4 separate regions of the Homo sapiens genome follow, and all the other regions are linked to region 1. The links are contacts of gene promoters, found by promoter capture Hi-C in blood cells and fetal thymus (Javierre and others, 2016). All regions are on one chromosome and are shown on one strand. The core of a region is centred on a gene start or on the middle of the fragment in contact, and the rest is flanking DNA. Distances in the headings are between cores, read along the strand shown.

Region 1 (3,102 bases), core at 356-2,855:
GATCGCGAGCCCGGCGGATGCGGCAGCGGCGGAAGGCGGCTGGGGAGACGCTACTCCAACTGTTGAATTGAATTTTCACCTTTCCTTTCATCCGCTGCTTTGCTTGCGGAGATGGATTTATTTGCTTTGAAATCCGCATATCTTTCTCAGACTGTGGGGTGATCCCGGCAGACACCAGACTGAAAGAGACCACCCGTGACAGAAAAGGAGGAATTAAAAAAAAAAAAAACCTCCACAACAGACTGCACAATTAACTGTACACATCGATGTTGGACTTTGTGAATAGAAAAAATTGAGAGGAAAATCTTGAACTATGATGCGAGGCTAAGCTGGGAACAATTACTGGAAACCTGATTTTGTTTTTCCTTTTCCAAGACTCTGAAAAATTTCGGGGTACCTCTCGCCTAACCAAGAGGAAAGGTTTAAAAAAAATAAACAAAATAAATAAACCAATACACCTAGCAAAGCAGACGCCTTGTTTTCCAGAACCTCGGACTCCGGCAGAAAGAGGTAGAGTAAAAGTGCTGCTAGATTCAGCTTCACCTTCTTCCCTCCATCCTTTTCTCTTGCATTTTCTTTTTCCCCAAAAACATGAATCTGGTTTTTCTTTCTATAGACTGAGTCAGAGAAAGCGTTAGGAAGAAGCCGCAACTAATGTCTGTGAAGGGAGGACCATGAGGCGAGAGTGAATACGATTCGTTCCGCTGCTTCTGACTCATCCGGCAGATCGGAACACCTGCATTTCTGGATGTGTCATTCCCGTATGTCGAGGCGCCTCCAGAACCCGAAATAATGTGTAGACAGACCTGTGTCTAACATCCCCTCGGAGGGAGCTCCCCGGGGTAGGAGCCCCTGGCTGGACCGCCGCGGCCGCAGCTCTGCACCCCCTGCCCTCCCTGAGTCGCCCAGAAAAACTGAAAGAGAGACTGCAGAATGCATCACGCCAAACCTTGATGTGTTGCTTTCATCCAGCCCACTCCTCCTACTATAAGAGAAAATTGAAGGAAAAAAAAAAACACGTACTTTATTTGCTTCAAATATTCATCACTTTTATTCCTCGCCAAGGTTTTCTTTTCTAGATGAAGAGGACTGGGAGGCAGGGCTATTGGAAGGAGATGCTGAATAGAAAGAAAAGAGGCACTTGACAGCCCAGCCCTGTGAATGCAGAGACTGTTTCCCTTCTAGCGAGAGACAGGGAGAGTGTGTGTGCAAGGACTGGGAGGGAGGCTCCCCCTTCCTTTTTATTCGGCCTCCCCCCTCCTCCTTTAAATGTGCACGTCCAACCATGAGTTGCCTGTTGATTTCCCTTCGCCTGGGAAGAAAAGCAAACTGGAATTAAACTGCTTGGAGAGAAGTCCTTGCTCGCGGGGAGAGGATGGGATGGTAGCGGAGGCTACTGGCTTGGCGTAGAGAAATCAGAGAGTGTGTTCTACGAACAGAGGCGAAGATTTATCTCTCTACTTCCCCCCTCCCAATAGACTCACACAGCAAATGCTGATCAGGCTGTGGCTTTCTTGATTTCGGGGGAGAGCCTTTTCCGAGGAAGAGAGGGAGGAGCCTGGTGGGGAGAGGAAACTACAAATCGGGACACTAGTTCTTTACGCTGCATTTCCTCCCCTCCCTTTGGCTGCTCGGAAAGGAGAGAGAGGAAAAAAAAAATACGCTTGGCTGGTAGATGCAGTCCGCCGCCGCCGCTGCCTCAGCCAGCAATGCAAGATTAGATCTCTAAATGCAGCAAAACACTGCCTGAAAACAGACCGGCCCGCGCAGCAAGCAGACATTTCACGGTGCGCTGGGGAAGCTTCAAAATATATCTGTGACTCTGTCTTCGTTGCTCTTCATCCCCATCAATTTCATCACGGGAGGCGAGCAGCAAGTAAGAATTTCACTTTCGGATCTGCCTAGAGACACACCTCCCTGCTCCCTCCCCCACTCGATGTGAAGAGTATTCCGGAGTCTCCGGGCGGGAGTAGATTTGCAGCACCCTAGCGGGAGCGAGGAAAACCTACTGATTCTTTAGCTCATTATCATCTCTCCCAGACGAGATTTCCTTCTTATCGCCTGCCTCATCGCTCAAGTTTGAGCCTCCCGAAGTCCGGGCGGGAGAGACGAAACCCCTGGCTCACCCCCAGCCGCAGGAAGCCACCGCCTTGCTCCAAGCCCCTGCAGCTCTGCTGCACCGCAGCTTCTCACCCAGTGCGGATGCTGTAGATCAACAGGTTCAGGGAACTTGAGCAGAATAAGGAGAGACCACCGGGTGCCGCAGCTCGGGTGCAGAGGGAAAAAAGGACCCATAGACTTGTGGCTCGCGTCGCGCGCGCACGCTGCGCCAGGGCCCCAGGCTGGCGCGCACTCCCTCTCTGGCTCCTCCAGTCCGATTGCTCCTGCCCCCACCTTACAGGTCTGGGATGTACCTTTCCATCTGTTGCTGCTTTCTTCTATGGGCCCCTGCCCTCACTCTCAAGAACCTCAACTACTCCGTGCCGGAGGAGCAAGGGGCCGGCACGGTGATCGGGAACATCGGCAGGGATGCTCGACTGCAGCCTGGGCTTCCGCCTGCAGAGCGCGGCGGCGGAGGGCGCAGCAAGTCGGGTAGCTACCGGGTGCTGGAGAACTCCGCACCGCACCTGCTGGACGTGGACGCAGACAGCGGGCTCCTCTACACCAAGCAGCGCATCGACCGCGAGTCCCTGTGCCGCCACAATGCCAAGTGCCAGCTGTCCCTCGAGGTGTTCGCCAACGACAAGGAGATCTGCATGATCAAGGTAGAGATCCAGGACATCAACGACAACGCGCCCTCCTTCTCCTCGGACCAGATCGAAATGGACATCTCGGAGAACGCTGCTCCGGGCACCCGCTTCCCCCTCACCAGCGCACATGACCCCGACGCCGGCGAGAATGGGCTCCGCACCTACCTGCTCACGCGCGACGATCACGGCCTCTTTGGACTGGACGTTAAGTCCCGCGGCGACGGCACCAAGTTCCCAGAACTGGTCATCCAGAAGGCTCTGGACCGCGAGCAACAGAATCACCATACGCTCGTGCTGACTGCCCTGGACGGTGGCGAGCCTCCACGTTCCGCCACCGTACAGATCAACGTGA
Region 2 (3,102 bases), core at 252-2,751, 2.8 Mb after region 1:
ATATATCTAATGGTGAGGTATTTCTTGAATGCTTACTAAATGAGTTTTTTTTAAACCCTGAGTGATCTTTATATCAAACACAAATTCAAAATTATAGTAGTCTATTTTATTTTCTTTGTTATCCCTACTCTCCAACAAAAAACAAATGTCAGAAACCTTTAAGCTAGTTTAGTATCTCTTCAGGGTCTTAGCTTCAACAGGAGTATAATATTTTACTTGTGAAACAAGGTTGTCATCTAGTGGTGCTTTCAAGTAGTACAGCTTTCACAATTAGCTAGCTGATAGTCTTCAGCTTTTTAAAGGAAGTGCTTAACAAAAAGCTATCTAGGTTTAACTTTTCAGAATTTAAACACTTTTGAATACTGTTAAATTAGATATAAACTTACAAAGGATTTTCCCTAGAAATTTTTTAAATTTCCATCTCAATTTTTAAAATAAATTTTTTGTTTGGCTACTGAAATACTGATATTTGACCAGTGTGGATGTTAACCATGATGATATCAAGGCATTTCATATTGTTTTGCATCATCAGAAGTTGTTTATTTAGAAGAAGATTCTTAAATAGTGTTAAGTAATTAAAAATTTTTTTTTGCATATTAATCCTTTCACCAGCCTGAGCAACAAAGCAAGACTATCTTTACCAAAAAAAAAAAAAAAAAAAAAGGTGGAACTAATGTATATTTATGATGGCAAAGAAATCATAAAAACTAAAAACTGAAAAAATAATGCATATTAATAGATAGTTGATTAATGAGTAAAATAAATCTTATATTGAAAGTAGTTTACTACATTAAGATTAACACTACATGCTGGTACTTAGAAGTACTTTAAATAGTACGTACCTTTATTTATCTGATCCATTTATATATAAGCCACAGAGAAAATTAAATTTTTAAGCTAGCATTGATTCAAGTCCTGGTTTAATTGTTGGAATACAGATTGTGGTATTCAATGTGGGATAGGAAGTGGCTACTTTGCCTAGACAAGAAAAGAAAATGTGGTAATATTAATAGAAGAGGTACTTAGTTGTTAAGGGAAACAAAATAAAAGACCTCTTTTTTCATTTTCCACCATTTTTCATAGTACTCACTCCTCTGAATTACCTTTTGTAGAATTCTGATCCTTCTGTTTATTATGCTTAATAGAGCTTTTGCCATGGAATTCATGGATTCATTCAACTAACTGCTGGTGTTCCATTTTATATTCTCATGTGCTATCTTTCCAATATATCTGTAAGCTGTATTGAATATATTGATTTTATTTTTAACAGGTTATCTGAAGAAAATCTTGTGCCCCAATTCTTACTAGCATTTTTACCTTACTAATCTTGTTATTCATTATGGCAAAATACTGTATTTTCCCAAGTTATATTCATAAACAAGAACTTTCAAGCCATTTTCCTTCTGCCCTAGAGGAGGGAATTGGCAAGTTAATTCTTTCAGTGTCTCTGACTAGGTATAGTATAGTAAGAGTCTATAAGAATAATATATAAAACAAATTTTTGGCAGGTGTATTACAATCAATTTACACTATGGAGAGAGAAACAGTTTAGGCAGAGTGAACAGAGAGATCTTCGTATGGGTAATTTTTAAAAAATATCTTTACAACATTGAAGTTTTGGGAATTTGCAGTAGGTCAGTTACTTCCATATTTGCTAAGATCAAAAATATCCTTTAATAGAAGTTATTTTTTAAATTATCTTTTATGTTTTTTCCCTCTCTTGTCCCACCTTAGCTTGGGTAATTGGGAATTAGTTATCTTTATTTTCTTTGTGGCTAAGCAAGAATTCATTTATCAAACTCCCATTTTGGTATTTGGATATCATGTGCGGGGGCTAGTAACCTCAGTGTGGTAGCAGATAATCAGGTGTAGGTTAGAACCCCAAAAACTGCATGAAGCCATTTGATTTGGGTTTTATTCAGGGGCAATTAAGAACACCATGTACCAGTCACTGTCCAGATATCTTCTTATTTTTTTTGACATAGTCCCTATCCATTTGTGAAGAATGTTTTCACTCTTGGTTTTCTCATTGGCATTTTAAAGACTTTTCATGTGTCATCAGCCCAGTTTATATCAATGTGCAATAATTCTGTATTTTATTATTTCAGGAAGTCAAGTTGCAGTTCAGATTTGAATGGGCATTCATTATTTCAATGGGTGGCAGTGGGTAAAAGAGAATAAAACTTTAATGTTTGCTTTTATGGCTCACTTTCTGGCCAATTAAAACATTCCTCCTCCTTAAAAATATAAGTAGTCCTCAAAGTCTGAAGTAAGCATGGGTTCTTTATATGTCCAGTTTGTAAAATATTTATGTCAATGACCAGACTGAATGATTTGATACTTTTTAGTGTGATGTAAACAACTCACCAGAGAACATTTGTTACAGGCATAATTGTGTTCTTTGCTCTCCCAGTGCGTACAAAGTGACCTAAAAGATACTTGGTTCTTTTCTTGCTTGGAAAGGAAGTTGGCTATGAATGTTATACTATCTGAGGTACACTTACGGCACAACACTGTATGTCAGAGACAACTTGGAAGTGAACAGGAGCAAATAATTTAAATAAACTAATGTGTTTAATAAGTACAAAGTACATGTACCACATGCAGGCTGAGCCCTGTTTTGTTTGGCTTGTACACTGCTTTACGGAAATCTAAAAGCTAAAAATCAAATCTGACGCAGTAACTGCTTTACTAGTCCTCGTGCAGACATGGCTGCCCCCTTTAGCTCAGTCAGCTGATGTGTAGTTTGCCTTGCTCCGTTTCATTATCTATACATTATAGCCAGTGAGTAAGTTAGATTCACCGATTTTACCTGCTTTCAAAGAAATGGATCAAAAGAAAATTGGCCCTCTTCTTTCCTTACTGATGGTAAAGGGTGGTAATGGAGATCTACTATCTGGAACAATGAGTTTAAAACAATAGTGTTTGTTTTATCACAGTTTTCTGCCAATTGAGATTCTTGAGCTATGGTTTGGACATGTCTGTTTTATATGCCAAGTGACTTCTGAACACGACGTGAAGACAGTTAAGTGATTCTAAGACGGAATTTTGACATCTCATAAATAGAAGCATTTACTAAAGGAAGCATTTTCTAAAATCCCT
Region 3 (3,102 bases), core at 336-2,835, 2.3 Mb after region 1:
ATTTAAAAACAGTACAACATGAAAAACATATTCAAAATATATGACACAGCCAAAAAGTTTCAGAACAATGGATTTTTTAAAATGTTCACGTGAACATGCATACATTGGTAAATACACAGAAATGGAATTAGAAGTACAACAGATTGTTAAAAATGATCATTTGTGTGGAATGAAAAGAGGTAGTGGGATACGGGGGACATCTACATTGTATTCAATATTTCTATGTTATTTGAATGTTTTACAACAAGAATATATGATGTATTTTAAAGCGAGGGATTTTTAATGCAGGGAGATATGCACGAATTTCCTACAACATTTTTCATTAAAAAGGCCTCAGCTGCACAAAGTTTAAAAGCCCTGCCCTACAGTGACACCAAATGGTGGTAGATCAAAATACAGCACACAAACAGGACATTTGTTCGATTCAATCTTCCTATAAATGTTTGATTTCTTTGAAGAACAGGAAGCTTAACAGAATTAAATAACGTGGAGACAAATACTCAAAAACCTAGAATTTTTAATCAAAGAAAGTCTAGTACACCAAGCTTCAACTGCAAATTTTTAGGCCTCTTTCCAAACTTCAGCTAATCTTCTGATCCCACTGAATATTTACATAAATCATTTCTCACAGTTAAAGCATGCCACTGTGAACACAGTGATTTTACCTAATAGCTTATTGATCAAAGAAAGCCTACAAATACAAGAAATGCAGTCATAAAACTAAAGTCAGGCTCTACTCCATCGGAATCAACCCTTGGTAAGTAGGTAATATTTTGGAAAGATGGACGAGAAGGTGTTGGGGATAAACAGGGATGGAAAGAATCCAAGAAGAGACACAAGCAATGACTCCAATTAATGACAAAGTATATTTTCATTTGTTAATCTAGTGATAGAAAATTAAGCTGAGTAAAAGAGGAGGCTATTGCCTCTCAAATATACACCAATTTCTCCACAAGAAAATTTTGTCCTGGACTGTCCAGGGAAAAGAATATTTCAAATTAAGCACATCAGTCAGTATTCAGTGTCCTCTGCCCAGAACCTAAACCAACAAAAACAGCATGTAAATGGCCTTATTCATTACAAGCCACTATAAAAAGATACAGAGATAGACCACCTCTCAGGGCACTCCTCTAAAACACCATTTGGCCAGGATCCTTAGTCTTTTAGCATTAAATGAGAGTTTATTGGATTTTTGATGTGTTACTTTTCATATACCAAAATCTCCTAGAAAACACAGGACATATAAATATATGATCATCTACAAAAAAAAGTCAATAATATAATTAAGCTCTAAGGCCTTGAAATCATATAACTGGATTTCAATCCTAATAGGTACAAGCCAACTTACGACCACATGTTACCAGCACTACTTTACCCCACTCATGGATAATCAGCTCTAGAACACCTTGAGAGCTATCCTGATCAAATGAGTGCATGTCCAGTGACAAGAACCACAAGGAGATCAGTTCAAGAAGGTAACTTAAGTTTCTGAATTACTATATAAGTGACAGATGAACAACTAAGAACTGAGTACCACAAAAAGTATCCATGTCTACTACATATACATTTATGACTTAATTAGAAAGAGAGGTAATATCAGCATTAAATAATTTTGCTTCCAATTTCAACAGAGACATAAATATGAACATGAAAGTCTATATTACAGAAAATGTGAAAAATTAGGCACATCACATGGTTTAGTGGTTAGAAGTTTCAAGGATATACAATTTAATAGAAATTGACATAATTCCCACAGTAAATTTGTATACCATACTCTACAGGATATAGAGCCCTAGAAAACTGTATCTAAGTGATACATGATAAAAGTAAGACATATGGCCGGGTGCAGTGGCTCACACCTGTAATCCCAGCACTTTGGGAGATCGAGGTGGGCAGATCACAAGGTCAAGAGATCAAGACCATCCTGGCCAACATAGTGAAACCCCATGTCTACTAAAAATACAAAAAGTTGGCTGGGCTTGGTGTTGTGCACCAAGCTGTAGTTCCAGCTACTAAGGTAGCTGAGGCAGGGGAATCGCTTGAACCCAGGAGGCGGTTGCAGTGAGCCGAGATCGTGCCACTGTACTCCAGCCTGGTGACAGAGCTAGACTCTGTCTCAAAAAAAAAAAAAAAAAAAAAAAAAGTAAGACATTTCCAGTATACAAACTATTTCTGATATATGCTAATTGACCTTAATTGACATTGGTTACTAATATTTTAGATGTCTTACTTTTACACCCTGCCTTTCTATCAAAGAGGAAAATAACATAAACATCAATATCCTGGTGGAGCTACATCTTATGTTTTTTAACTAATTCTTATGGAGAATTAAAGTTGATTATATAATGCAAGCAACTTGACTGAATTTAATCTACTGTCTCAAGTTAGGGTATCAGTTTAAATAAAACACAACCTTTCAGAAAAAATTGTAATTAATATGAATCAAATTAATGAATTCACATAACTGGATAAAAGAAAACTTAAACTTAGTGGCAAGTAAAAACTGTAGAATTTTAACTAATTTTTGTTCAAATGAAAATGCTAGAAATCATAACATCAGTCTACGGAACCTAAAGATGAAAGAGTTAAGAGCTAATTTTTCTACAGTGAAAAACAAATGAAAAGTCAAGCTTTGGTCCTATTTGGAGCTGGGAAAGCACTAACACTACCCCAAACTCTTGACTTTTTCTTATATCTAACTGTGTGATGATTTTTCAGGTAAAGATGATTAGCACATTTCTAATGTACTTTAAATCTAGGCTAAATCAAGAAGTAAACATGTTTTTAAGGCAAGGATGTCTTGTAGAAATCTGGAGTTTAATTCACTTCAAGTTAATTGCCCATTTTTGATACAAACACTTCAAAAAGTTTATTACTTTAAAAATGAAACATTATTATGGAAGTCTTACAGAAATACACTTGGCAATTATAACCAATTTCTTAAAATCATCAAATTACTGTATTATTGATAATGTTGATAAACTGAAAACACATCATTCTTTAGTAAGTTAGCAAAGGTTTTTAATCTAGAAAGGAGTACAGAAAATTTCAGACATTCCAGACTGTCTAACACTCTTTGTCCAGTATTTTGTTTTTTTTTTT
Region 4 (3,102 bases), core at 195-2,694, 2.0 Mb after region 1:
TCCATTTGGTTTCTTGGTCACAAGCAGCACCCTGAACTCAGAAGTGTTGTCTCAAAAACATGGTGGAGTATATGAGGAAGAGTAATGCTGTCAATTTAAACCCCAAAATATTTAAGAAACACACACACCTACACATTAGGAAAGATATATTATTCATATAGATATCTAATAAAAACATACATTGTCATACATATGTATCCTATCAGGATTTTAAAAATATTTCATGCAAGCCTATGACGTGTTGTTGAATATCAGTGTTGAGAGCTTGTTATGAACTTTAGAATGCCTATTAAAAAAATGCTGTAGAGATTGCTTGGCTGCTGGGCCTCAGGGCAGAATCTGCTGACACATTGCAAGCATTTAAACTCATAGATTAACGAAGTTGGTTCTGACCTCTGTTCCTTGAGGTAGTTAGTACCCCAACAATTAGACCAGCAGAACTTCAGGGATGCTAATCATACACTTACTTGCAGAACCCTGTTATTAGGATCTAAGAAGACTTCTTTCCTTAGTCTTTTTTTTTTTTTTAACTCAATCAATGAAAATGCAGCTATAAGCTATAGCCACTAGAGGTCAGACGGCTACACCTGTCACCAATCATTAAATTTGATGGGGCATTATAGTTCCCTGAATAACTTTTGGTGACTTAAAAAATATAGAACAGAGTACACTCATTTACAACTATTATGGTAAAATAATAATATGTTTATTAATTAATTATTCTATTTCTAAAGGTCTTAGATTTTGCAATGGTACTACTTTTCTCTATTGGCTTTCATTTTATTTGGAAGGGGAAGGAAAACATTGCAATAATGGAATCTAGAAACCTTTGCAATTGATGGAATCTCATGATACGAAAAGACCGCTGTCTGGAGTAGAACACGGAAGCAATGTGTTCTGTAGTTTTACCAAACACATTTGGTAATGCAACTCTTACGAACCTTCCGATCTGAATCATTTTATTTATCTAATCTAATCTCTTGCCTTTTTTCTCCTGGTATATACAAATCTTATTGTACCTAGTTATAGCTTTACTTATTAAAGATTATTATAATGGGAGGTGTTACTCCTTGTCTTTCCAATGAGGTTTATTATGTGGCATATCACACATACTTTGTTAAAAAAACAACAAAATGCCGGGCTCAGTGGCTCATGCCTGTAATCCCAACATTTTTTTGGGAGGCAGAGATGGTAGGATTGCTTGAGACCAGGACTTTAAGATCAGCCTGGGCAATATAGTAAGACTCCGTCTCTACAAAAAATTAAGAGAAATAATTAGCCAGGGCATGGTGGCACACACCTGTAGTCCTAGCTACTTGGAAGGCTGAGGTGGGAGGATCACTCAAGCCTGGGAGGTTGAGGCTGCAGTGAGCCATGACTGCACCACTGCACTCCAGTCTGGGCAACAGAGTGAGAGCCTCTCTCAAAAACAAAAAGATTAAAAAAAATTTTCAACTATAACACAATCCACAAATAAGGAACTCAAATTTAGTTATAACAAAATTATGTTCACTTTCTCACCAACTTATTAATAAAATAACTGTTTTAAGTGTTTTTTTTTTCCATTTCAGGCTATATTTTACAAGACTCATTATAAAAACAATACTAGTATGTTAGAGCACTTACTAAGTGCCAGGTTTGCACAAAGTGCTTTACAAAAATCATCATGTAGCCTAAGAAAGTATGATTTTTATACTCTCTAATTCACAATGAGGAAGGAGGCTTTGTGGGATTAAGAAACCTGTTCTAATTAAGAGGCAAGTTAGGGTGGAGCTCTGATGCAAGCTCAAGTAATCCAATTCAGCTCCTGGCTCCAAACTATAGCACTTTAATAACATTTTTAAACTGTAAATGCTGTAAAAGAAGCAGGAAGTATTTCTATATCAGTACAATGAACCAAAAAGAAACTATGAGACACTTCATTTTTACTGATATTGCTTCTGACAAATATCCTAAAAATATAGTTAGCTCTCTAGTTAAAGAGAACCAGGAATGTTAATTTCCAGGTTTTCTGCTTATATGGTACAGAGTACTGTCCATACTTATCTTTGCTGTATATCTACTGACAAGAGCAGCAAAATTTATGGCCCAGGTTCACTAGTACATTGGAAAATATTAGAAGCTAGTTATTTTGATGTTATTATACATAAATCCTCACATTTTAACAAATACTACCCAATTTGTACGAAGGGTCCAGAGTCATAAAATTATTTTTCAGTTGTTTTCTTTTTTAACAAAAATGAGCTAACCACAAAAATCTTGCTCTATTATTTATTTAATAATCATTTATTGACAGGGTCTTGTCTGTCGCCCAGGCTGGGGTGCAGTGGCACCATTATAGCTCACTGTAGCCTCAAAATCCTGGGCTCAAGTGATCCTCCCCCTTCACCCTCCTGAGTAGCTGGGATTACAGGTGTGAGCCTCCATGCCTGGCTTCAATCTATTTTAAAGGTTAAAGTTTTAGCATATAGTTTTCTCTCACTAGCAAGCTATGCTTTAGGACACTATTCTTCTATTAGGAAATAGTGCAGTTTCTTAAAATGCCTTTAAATTTTTTAGCTGTACTTATGCAGAAAACTCTATATAAAATACTGCATTAAACTCTATATATAATACTGCATAAAACTGTCTGTATAACAAGGAATACCCTATTCCCTAGTCTGAATCATTGTCTATAATAATCTTTCATCCCTCAAATCTCAATCAAATATGACCTCCTGATTTTCCAAAACATAGCGATGCCAACTTGTATTGTATTTCTCTCATATGTTTTGTATCCTAGTTAGCCTGGTGTTGTAGTTTTTTGTGCCCCTGCCTCATACTCAAGTCTAGTGATGACCATAAACTATTCAAAGTAGAGTCTATGTACTTCCCATTCTTTGTGTTAAAAGCGGTACTTTAATGCAGATGTGTCATATTTCATCATAAGATTCTACATTCAAGAGGACAATGTTTCATAATTCTTTGGTGTACTGCAAGGCACAAGATAAAGAATATGCTTTCATTCATTTAGTCAAAAGTATGAACAGTGGGCCATGCTGCTTTATGTTTCAGGGATATGGCAGAGAATAAACAGACACAGTCCCTGCCTTCAGGAAGCCT

What was found. Contacts are between HindIII fragments. The CHiCAGO score rates a contact against its expected background, and 5 or more counts as called.
Region 2: a fragment that was not itself captured here is called in contact with the fragment with the promoter of PCDH17 in region 1 in 1 of 17 cell types (naive B cells); the score reaches 8.2 in naive B cells.
Region 3: a fragment that was not itself captured here is called in contact with the fragment with the promoter of PCDH17 in region 1 in 1 of 17 cell types (endothelial precursors); the score reaches 5.7 in endothelial precursors.
Region 4: a fragment that was not itself captured here is called in contact with the fragment with the promoter of PCDH17 in region 1 in 1 of 17 cell types (endothelial precursors); the score reaches 7.5 in endothelial precursors.

What each region holds. Positions count from the first base shown.
Region 1 is chr13:57,630,139-57,633,240 of GRCh38, forward strand. PCDH17 (protocadherin 17) reads left to right here and starts at 1,606. Exons shown (of 4, transcript NM_001040429.3): 1 at 1,606-3,102. The coding sequence starts at 2,409. RefSeq lists enhancers at 1-154, 2,113-2,792. The HindIII fragment of the contact is 2,681 bases long and covers 1-1,799 here.
Region 2 is chr13:60,431,062-60,434,163 of GRCh38, forward strand. All of the region lies in intron 1 of TDRD3 (tudor domain containing 3), which reads left to right. LOC124903178 (a long non-coding RNA gene) reads right to left here and starts at 1,159. Exons shown (of 3, transcript XR_007063814.1): 1 at 1,104-1,159; 2 at 843-978. The HindIII fragment of the contact is 7,370 bases long and covers 1-3,102 here.
Region 3 is chr13:59,906,252-59,909,353 of GRCh38, forward strand. All of the region lies in intron 20 of DIAPH3 (diaphanous related formin 3), which reads right to left. Among named protein-coding and RNA genes, the nearest start is that of DIAPH3-AS1, 100 kb to the right of the region's middle. The HindIII fragment of the contact is 2,085 bases long and covers 544-2,628 here.
Region 4 is chr13:59,680,052-59,683,153 of GRCh38, forward strand. The region is part of intron 27 of DIAPH3 (diaphanous related formin 3); the gene reads right to left. Among named protein-coding and RNA genes, the nearest start is that of DIAPH3-AS1, 330 kb to the right of the region's middle. The HindIII fragment of the contact is 6,478 bases long and covers 1-3,102 here.